Linked DNA regions of Homo sapiens: region 2 is linked to region 1. The links are contacts of gene promoters, found by promoter capture Hi-C in human tissues and cell types (Jung and others, 2019). All regions are on one chromosome and are shown on one strand. Each heading gives the region's core, a stretch centred on a gene start or on the middle of the fragment in contact. The rest is flanking DNA. Distances are from core to core; before and after follow the strand shown.

Region 1 (3,306 bases), core at 807-3,306:
TGTACAGGGGAGCCCCAGGCACACGCGCCTGCAGTCTCAGAGCCTCACTTTCCCATCTGCGAACGGAAAGAAACCCAAGGCACCCACAGACGTGCCTCCCTGCTGGGCTGCTGCCTGCTGGAGGCAAGGAGAGTATTTCAGGAGAGGTGGCCCCAATCCAGGGAGCAGCCGTGCATGGTGGGGGCTGTGGGGGGAGATTCCTAGAGCAACCGGTCCCGGCCACCTGGAGGAACACCTCACAGCCAGGACTGCCTGCCAGGCCCTCCTCCACCAAGACGCCCACCTTCCCAGCTCCCAGCCAGGCTGCCCTGGCCATGCACAGAGGCCGGCCCACAATCCTGGGCAGTGTGGGCGGTCCTGGTCCCACTGTTCTAGGTCTGGCTGTGGGACTCGAGTCAGCAGGCCTTGGCAGGAGGTGGCTGGAACCATCTAGAAAGTTCAAGTGTGCTTTAGCTGCCTGGCTGGCCCCATGCACTGACTCTGTATCAGCTCATGCCTGGCCCTAGGAGGGAGAAGACCACTGTCAGGTCCTCCTCTTTCCCGCCCAGCCCCTGACACTCTGATGGTGCCAGGCCTGCTGCCCTAGGGGAAAACTGGGCAGGGGTGGCAGGGGTGGAGTGCTGCCCTGGGGCACTGGCTGGACAGACCTGGGAATTCTTCCCAGTCTCTCTTTGCTCCTCCCACCCTGGAGCACCGCGTTGTGTGTACACACAAGACAGAGACACACACACACACAAACACACACACATACACTCACACTCTCTCTTCCTCTCTCCAGTCCTGCCTTCCCTACCGGGCAACAGGTCCCTGCCCAAGGAAGCCCAGTGAAGCGATTACATAACCCCGGCCTGAGGGGTGGGGCGGGCCGGCTGACATCACTGCGTCCCCTGGGCCAGGTCCTGCGGGGCCCCTGCCCAGCACCTGCCCTCCCCTTCCCCCCCAAGATTTGCTCATCTGAAACCAGCACTCAACAGCAGTCACCACCCGGGCTGCGCAGAAACTTCCCGCTCCGACAGGAAACAGCACTTGGGCCTGGGGTGTCTGCGAAGTGCAGGGCTGAGGGGACATCCCATCCCCTCCCCCACGGCACAGGCCCCCTGGGGGTGGGTGCACCTGACCAGCCCGGCCTGGGGATTCTGAAAGAAAGTCCCCAGAAGCCACATGGAGGTGGGAATGGGACTGTGGCCCGCTGACCCGTCCCCACCAGGGCACAACCAGCTGGAGCTTGCAGGGGACACCCCCCATAAGCCACATGCAGCGACTGGGACAGGACTGCAGCCTGCTGACCCCCCAGAACATACCCGGCGGGGGCTTGCAGGGGACACACAGCCTGGTGCCCTGACCCGGAGGGGGCTCCTGCTCCCAGCCTCACTTGGGGGTCCTGGAGGAAGGACCCGGCGGCCATGGCTGGAGAGAGGACTGTGGCCTGCTGAACCCCCATCCTCGCACACCGACCCCGCTTCAGCGCACGGCCGGCCCGGGCAGCCCCGGGTGTAGGGCGGGGGCCAGGCACGAGCCCCGGGAGCCGATCTTAGGGGCGGGCCCCGCGCCCCCCACGCCGGCCATTCCGGTGGTCCAGCCCGGAGCGCCCCCAAACCGACCCCGGGCCTCACCTTGAACGAACGGTGGAAACCCTGAAGTTCGGCTGGTTTCTTCTGCACCATCTTCTGTCCGGGCCCCGCCAGCGGGGGAGGGGACCGAGGGCCCGGGGGGAGGCCCGAGGGCGGGCGGCCGGGCGGGGGGCGGCCGAGGAGGGGACCCTGCGGGCGGGAGCAGACAAAGGGAGGGCGGTGAGCGGAGCCCGGCCTGCCAGGAGCGCGGACCGGGCGGGGGCGGCGAGGGCTCCGCGGGGCCCGTTTCCCGCTACCGGGTCGGTGTCCTCGGGGCCGCCCTGGGGTTCGCACTCACCGGGGTCGGGCTTGGGCCGGGGCCGCAGTGCCGCCGCCGCCCCACGTCGCGCAGCCCGGACCCCGCTCCGCGGACCGCGCGGGGAACAGCGCCGCCGCCGCCGCCAGCGCGGACCCCTCTACCTGGGCCACCGCCGCTGAGAGGAGCCGGGCGCGTCGCCGCCGCCGCCACCTTTATAGGCCCGGACCTGCTCTGGCCCCGCCCCCGACGCAGGCTCCGCCCGGCCTCACCCCCTGCGCACGACGTGGGCGGAGCCAGAAGAGGGCGCTCTCCGGGAACCCAGTGCGGCTGCGCGCTCCGGCGGTGGGGCGTGTCCGAAACGGCTAGCGCACGCCTGCGCAGTGCGGCGCACGGGGGTCTCGGTGCGGAACCTAGGCAGCGACCCTGCGGCGCGCCCGGAGCTGGCCTGTTTTTGCCGCCTGAGGCTCGCGGGGCCCGTGGGACCTGCGAGGCCCTGGGCCGTGTCCTACCGCCTGGCCCCACACAGGGCAACTCCCTTGGCCTGTCAACCCAGGCCTAGTATACCCCGACTCCCTTGGTTCATGCCCTCGCTCTAGAACCTGCCATGGCTCCCTCTTGCAGTTCTCCAGTGCTGGCTCCAGCAGTCCCCCTCGTGCACCACCAGCACGCTTGGAGTCCCAGCCACTCCCTTCTAGTGCTGGGGGACCAGCCACCGCCACCTACTTTCTTCTTCCCCTGGGCCACCCTGCCTGGGGAGCACTGAGCTCCCCGAGTTTGCTTTGTGGTTGGCAGGAACCAGAGTAGAGGGTGGGGACCGAGGTCTGTGAAGGACCCTTCCTCTGTCCTCGAATAGCATTTCAGGGAGAACTGGGACCTGAGACCCACTGGGAAAGAGCCCAAGGGGTGGATGGTCGCCAGGACAGGAAGTAAAACACAGTCCCATTTTGGCTGGGGCCCCAAACCAGGCTTAGATAGAATCAGCCTGTCCTGAGCTGCCAGTCCCCCATCCCACAGCATCCTGGTTCAAAGTGCTCCCCAGGCCCCGGGCCTGGGGCACACAAGGAGTGGGGGTTCCCCTGCTGGGTGGACTGTGGTCTCCTCTTCTGCAGGGGTTTCCAGAAGCTTCGCACAGCCCATCCCACCATCCCCCAACCAGGCCCTGAGCTCAAGAGGGGCTGGAGCCCCACTGACCTGAAGCTGGAGGGCCCCTGCCTGCAAGGCCACAGCTCTCAGGCCACAGGGGCTGGGAGGCCTGGCCTCAGCCACCCCCGGGGCATTGGGGGGAAGCCTGTGGGGAATTCCCAGCCAGAACCCAGCCCAGCACCTGGCATTGCCCTGACTCTTGGCAATGGGGGGACAGAAAACCAGGTCCCCCAGCCCCCCTTATTGTGCATGTGGGTGCGTGTGTGTGCGTGTGAACACATACACGCACAAACA
Region 2 (3,469 bases), core at 48-2,547, 210 kb after region 1:
TGGGAGGCTGGTGTGTGGCCCCTGGGTGTGCATGGGGGCAGCTCCAGGAATTGGGGACCCTTACAGTCCTCTGCAACACCCCTTCACACCCCGGGAGCCCACACCTCTGCCCGGGATTCCCCCAGCCTCACTTCCTTACCCCCGAGCCTCGCTTACCCGCCAGCCGCTTTGCTGAGCCTTGTGGACAGGACGGAGGATGGGGAGGGTGGCCCCGTGATGGACGGCAACAGGTGGCCAGAGACCGCGGGTGGGCCAATCAGCATGCCCGCTGGAGTGAGGTCACAGCCGGGGAGTCCCCCACCCTTCCCTGCCATTGCAGCAGGGCAGGGCATTGCTCCTACTCAGCACTCGCCACTGCCACCCAGGGAGACGTAGCGCCTGCAGCTGGGACTACAGGCGCGCACCATCACACCCGGTAAGTTTTCAATTTTTTTTGAGACGGAGTCTCGCTCTGTCTCCCAGGCTGGAGTGCGGTGGCGCGATCTCCACTCACTGCAAGCTCCGCCTCCCGGGTTCACGCCATTCCCGTGCCTCAGCCTCCCGAGTAGCTGGGACTACAGGCGCCCGCCACCGCGCCCGGCTAATTTTTTTTGTATTTTTAGTAGAGATGGGGTTTCACCGTGTTAGCCAGGATGGTCTCGGTCTCCTGACCTCGGAATCCGCCCACCTTGGCCTCCCAAATTGCTGGAATTACAGGCGTGAGCCACTGCACCCGGACTAATTTTTGTATTTTTTTTTCAGTAGAGACAGGGTTTCCCTATGTTGGCCAGGCTGCTCTCGAACTCCTGACCGCAAGTAATCCATGTGATCCGCTCGCCTTGGCCACCCAAAGTGCTGGGATCCCAGGCGGGAGCCCCTGCAATGCATTCATTCCTGCTGTTTAAAGCCACTGTATTTGGGGTCATTTGTTTCTGTGGCTCTGGCAGGCTCATACACTCGGAACTGCCTGCTCCCACACCGTCATGCAGAGAAACCTGACGCCTCTGCTCTGGAGAGGACCCGGGGTCTCTCAGCCCCCAAAGGCACATTCTAAGGCCTGCAGGCAGATGTTTGAGCCCTACCTGCAAAGCATGGTGACTCTGGGAGTCCTGAGGGAAGAGGGGAAGTGGATTTTGGTGGTGAGGCCTGTGTGTTAAAAATCCTGAGTGAATGGCCGGGCGCGGTGGCTCACGCCTGTAATCCCAGCACTGTGGGAGGCTGAGGCGGGCGGATCGCCTGAGGTCGGGAGTTTGACACCAGCCTGGCCAACATGGTGAAATCTTGTCTCTATTAAAAATACAAAAATTAGTGAGGCGTGATAGTGGATGCCTGTAATCCCAGCTACTGGGGAGGCTGAGGCAGGAGAATTGCTTGAACCCGGGAGGTGGAGGTTGCAGTGAGCCGAGATCACATCATTGCACTCCAGCCTGGGCGACAGAGTGAGACTCTGTCTCAAATAATAATAATAATTCTGAGTGAATAGGGCCTCCCCAGGAACTACCAAGAGACCCAGAAGGCCAGCCCGCCTTCAGCAAAGCAAGGGCTGGGGTTCCCTGGTCCCCACTCCCTCCGCTTTAGAAACGGCTCTCGGCCGGGCGCGGTGGCTCACGCCTGTAATCCCAGCACTTTGGGAGGCCAAGGCAGGTGGATCACAAGGTCAGGAGATTGAGACCCTCCTGGCTAACACGGTGAAACCCCGTCTCTACTAAAAATACAAAAAATTAGCTGAGTGTCGTGGCGGGCGCCTGTAGTCCCAGCTACTCGGGAGGCTGAGGCAGGAGAATGGCGTGAACCCGGGAGGCAGAGTTTGCAGTGAGCCGAGATGGCACCACTGCACTCCAGCCTGGGCGACAGAGCGAGACTCTGTCTCAAAAAGAAAAAAAAAAAGAAATGGCTCTCATTTTTTTCTGTATGACACAAGGCAGAGACAAACAGGAAACAAAGAGAAGCTGAAAGCAAAAACTGTAAAGCACCTGTCATCTTCCCGCCCCCAAACAGACACTGTTTAATAGTTTGACATGTTCTTTCCGCTGTTTGTAACTTGTGATTTTATTATTAGTTCCATATTTATTTTTATAAAGCTGGCATAATTAGCGAAGGGCTGAACATCTTGTTTGTAACCTAGATTTATTTTTTCTTCCTAAAAGTTTTTTTGTTGTTGTTGAGATGGAGTCTCTCTCTGTCACCCAGGCTGGAGTGCAATGGCGCGATCTCGGCTCACTGCAACCTCTGCCTCCTGGGTTCAAGCGATTCTCCTGCCTCAGCCTCCCGAGGACCTAGGATTACAGGCATGCACCACTGCGCCTGGCTAATTTTCATATTTTTAGCAGAGATGGGGTTTCACCATGTTAATCAGGCTGGTCTCAAACTCCTGACCTCAGGCGATCTGCCCACTCTGGCCTCCTGAAGTGTTGGGATTACAGGCGTGAGCCACAGTGCTTGGCCCCTCCTAAAAGTATATTACAGCTTGGCAGTTCCTCAAAAAGCTAAAATAGAATGACCATAAGATGCAGAAACTCTACTCCTAGGTATCTACGAAAAGGAATCCGAAGCTTGGACTCAGATATTTGCACACCCAAGTTCAGGGCAGCACGATTCTCCGCAGCCACATGGTGTAGGCAGCTCTAGCGTTCCATCCTCAGATACACGGATCAACACAGCGTGGCCCTTCCACACGGTGAAGTACGACACAGCCGTGAACAGGAACGAGGCTCTGACTGCGGCCATGGCGTGAATGCACTTTAAGGATGTCACGCTCGGTGAGAGGTGCCAGACACAGAAGGCCATGCTGTATGTGATCCCATTTCTATGAAATGTCCAGGACAGGGCCGGGTACAGTGGCTCATGCCTGTAATCCCAGCACTTTGGGAGGCCAAGGTGGGTGGATCACGAGGTCAGGAGATCGAGACCATCCTGGCTAACACGGTGAAACCCCGTCTCTACTAAAAATACAAAAAATCAGCCGGGCGTGGTGGCGGGCGCCTGTAGTCCCAGCTACTTGGGAGGCTGAGGCAGGAGAATGGCGTGAACCCGGGAGGCGGAGCTTGCAGTGAGCTGAGATCACGCCACTGCACTCCAGCCCGGGCGACAGAGCGAGACTCCGTCTCAAAAAAAAAAAAAAAAAAAAAAAGAAATGTCCAGGACAGGCCAATTCACAGAGACAGGAAGGGGATTTGTGGGTGCCGGGGCTGGGAAGGGGATGGGGAGTGATGGCTGATGGGGATGGAGCTTCATTTAGGGTGACAAGAATGTTCTGGAATAAGACAGGGGTGGTGGTTGCTGAGTCATTTCACTTAGGATGATGATCTCCAGCTCCATCCATGTTGCTGCAAAATATGATTTCATTTGTTTGTTTTTTGAGACAGGCTCTCATCTCCGTCACCCAGGCTGGCATGCGTTGGCGCAATCAGGGCTCACTACAGCCTCAGCCTCTTCAGCTCAGGTGGTCATCCCACCTCAGCCTCCTGAGTAGCTGGGACCACAGGTGCCT

The links. Contacts are between HindIII fragments. The study calls those that stand out against the background at their distance.
Region 2: a contact is called between a fragment that was not itself captured here and the fragment with the promoter of MKNK2 in region 1, in 1 of the 25 tissues and cell types used here (dorsolateral prefrontal cortex).

What each region holds. Positions count from the first base shown.
Region 1 is chr19:2,049,188-2,052,493 of GRCh38, forward strand. MKNK2 (MAPK interacting serine/threonine kinase 2) reads right to left here and starts at 2,057. Exons shown (of 14, transcript NM_199054.3): 1 at 1,909-2,057; 2 at 1,614-1,760. The coding sequence starts at 1,664. RefSeq lists enhancers at 309-965, 1,142-1,201 and silencers at 772-961, 1,692-2,231. The HindIII fragment of the contact is 30,775 bases long and covers 1-3,306 here.
Region 2 is chr19:2,256,227-2,259,695 of GRCh38, forward strand. It overlaps JSRP1 (junctional sarcoplasmic reticulum protein 1), which reads right to left and starts at 191. Exons shown (of 7, transcript NM_144616.4): 1 at 157-191. The HindIII fragment of the contact is 6,525 bases long and covers 1-3,469 here.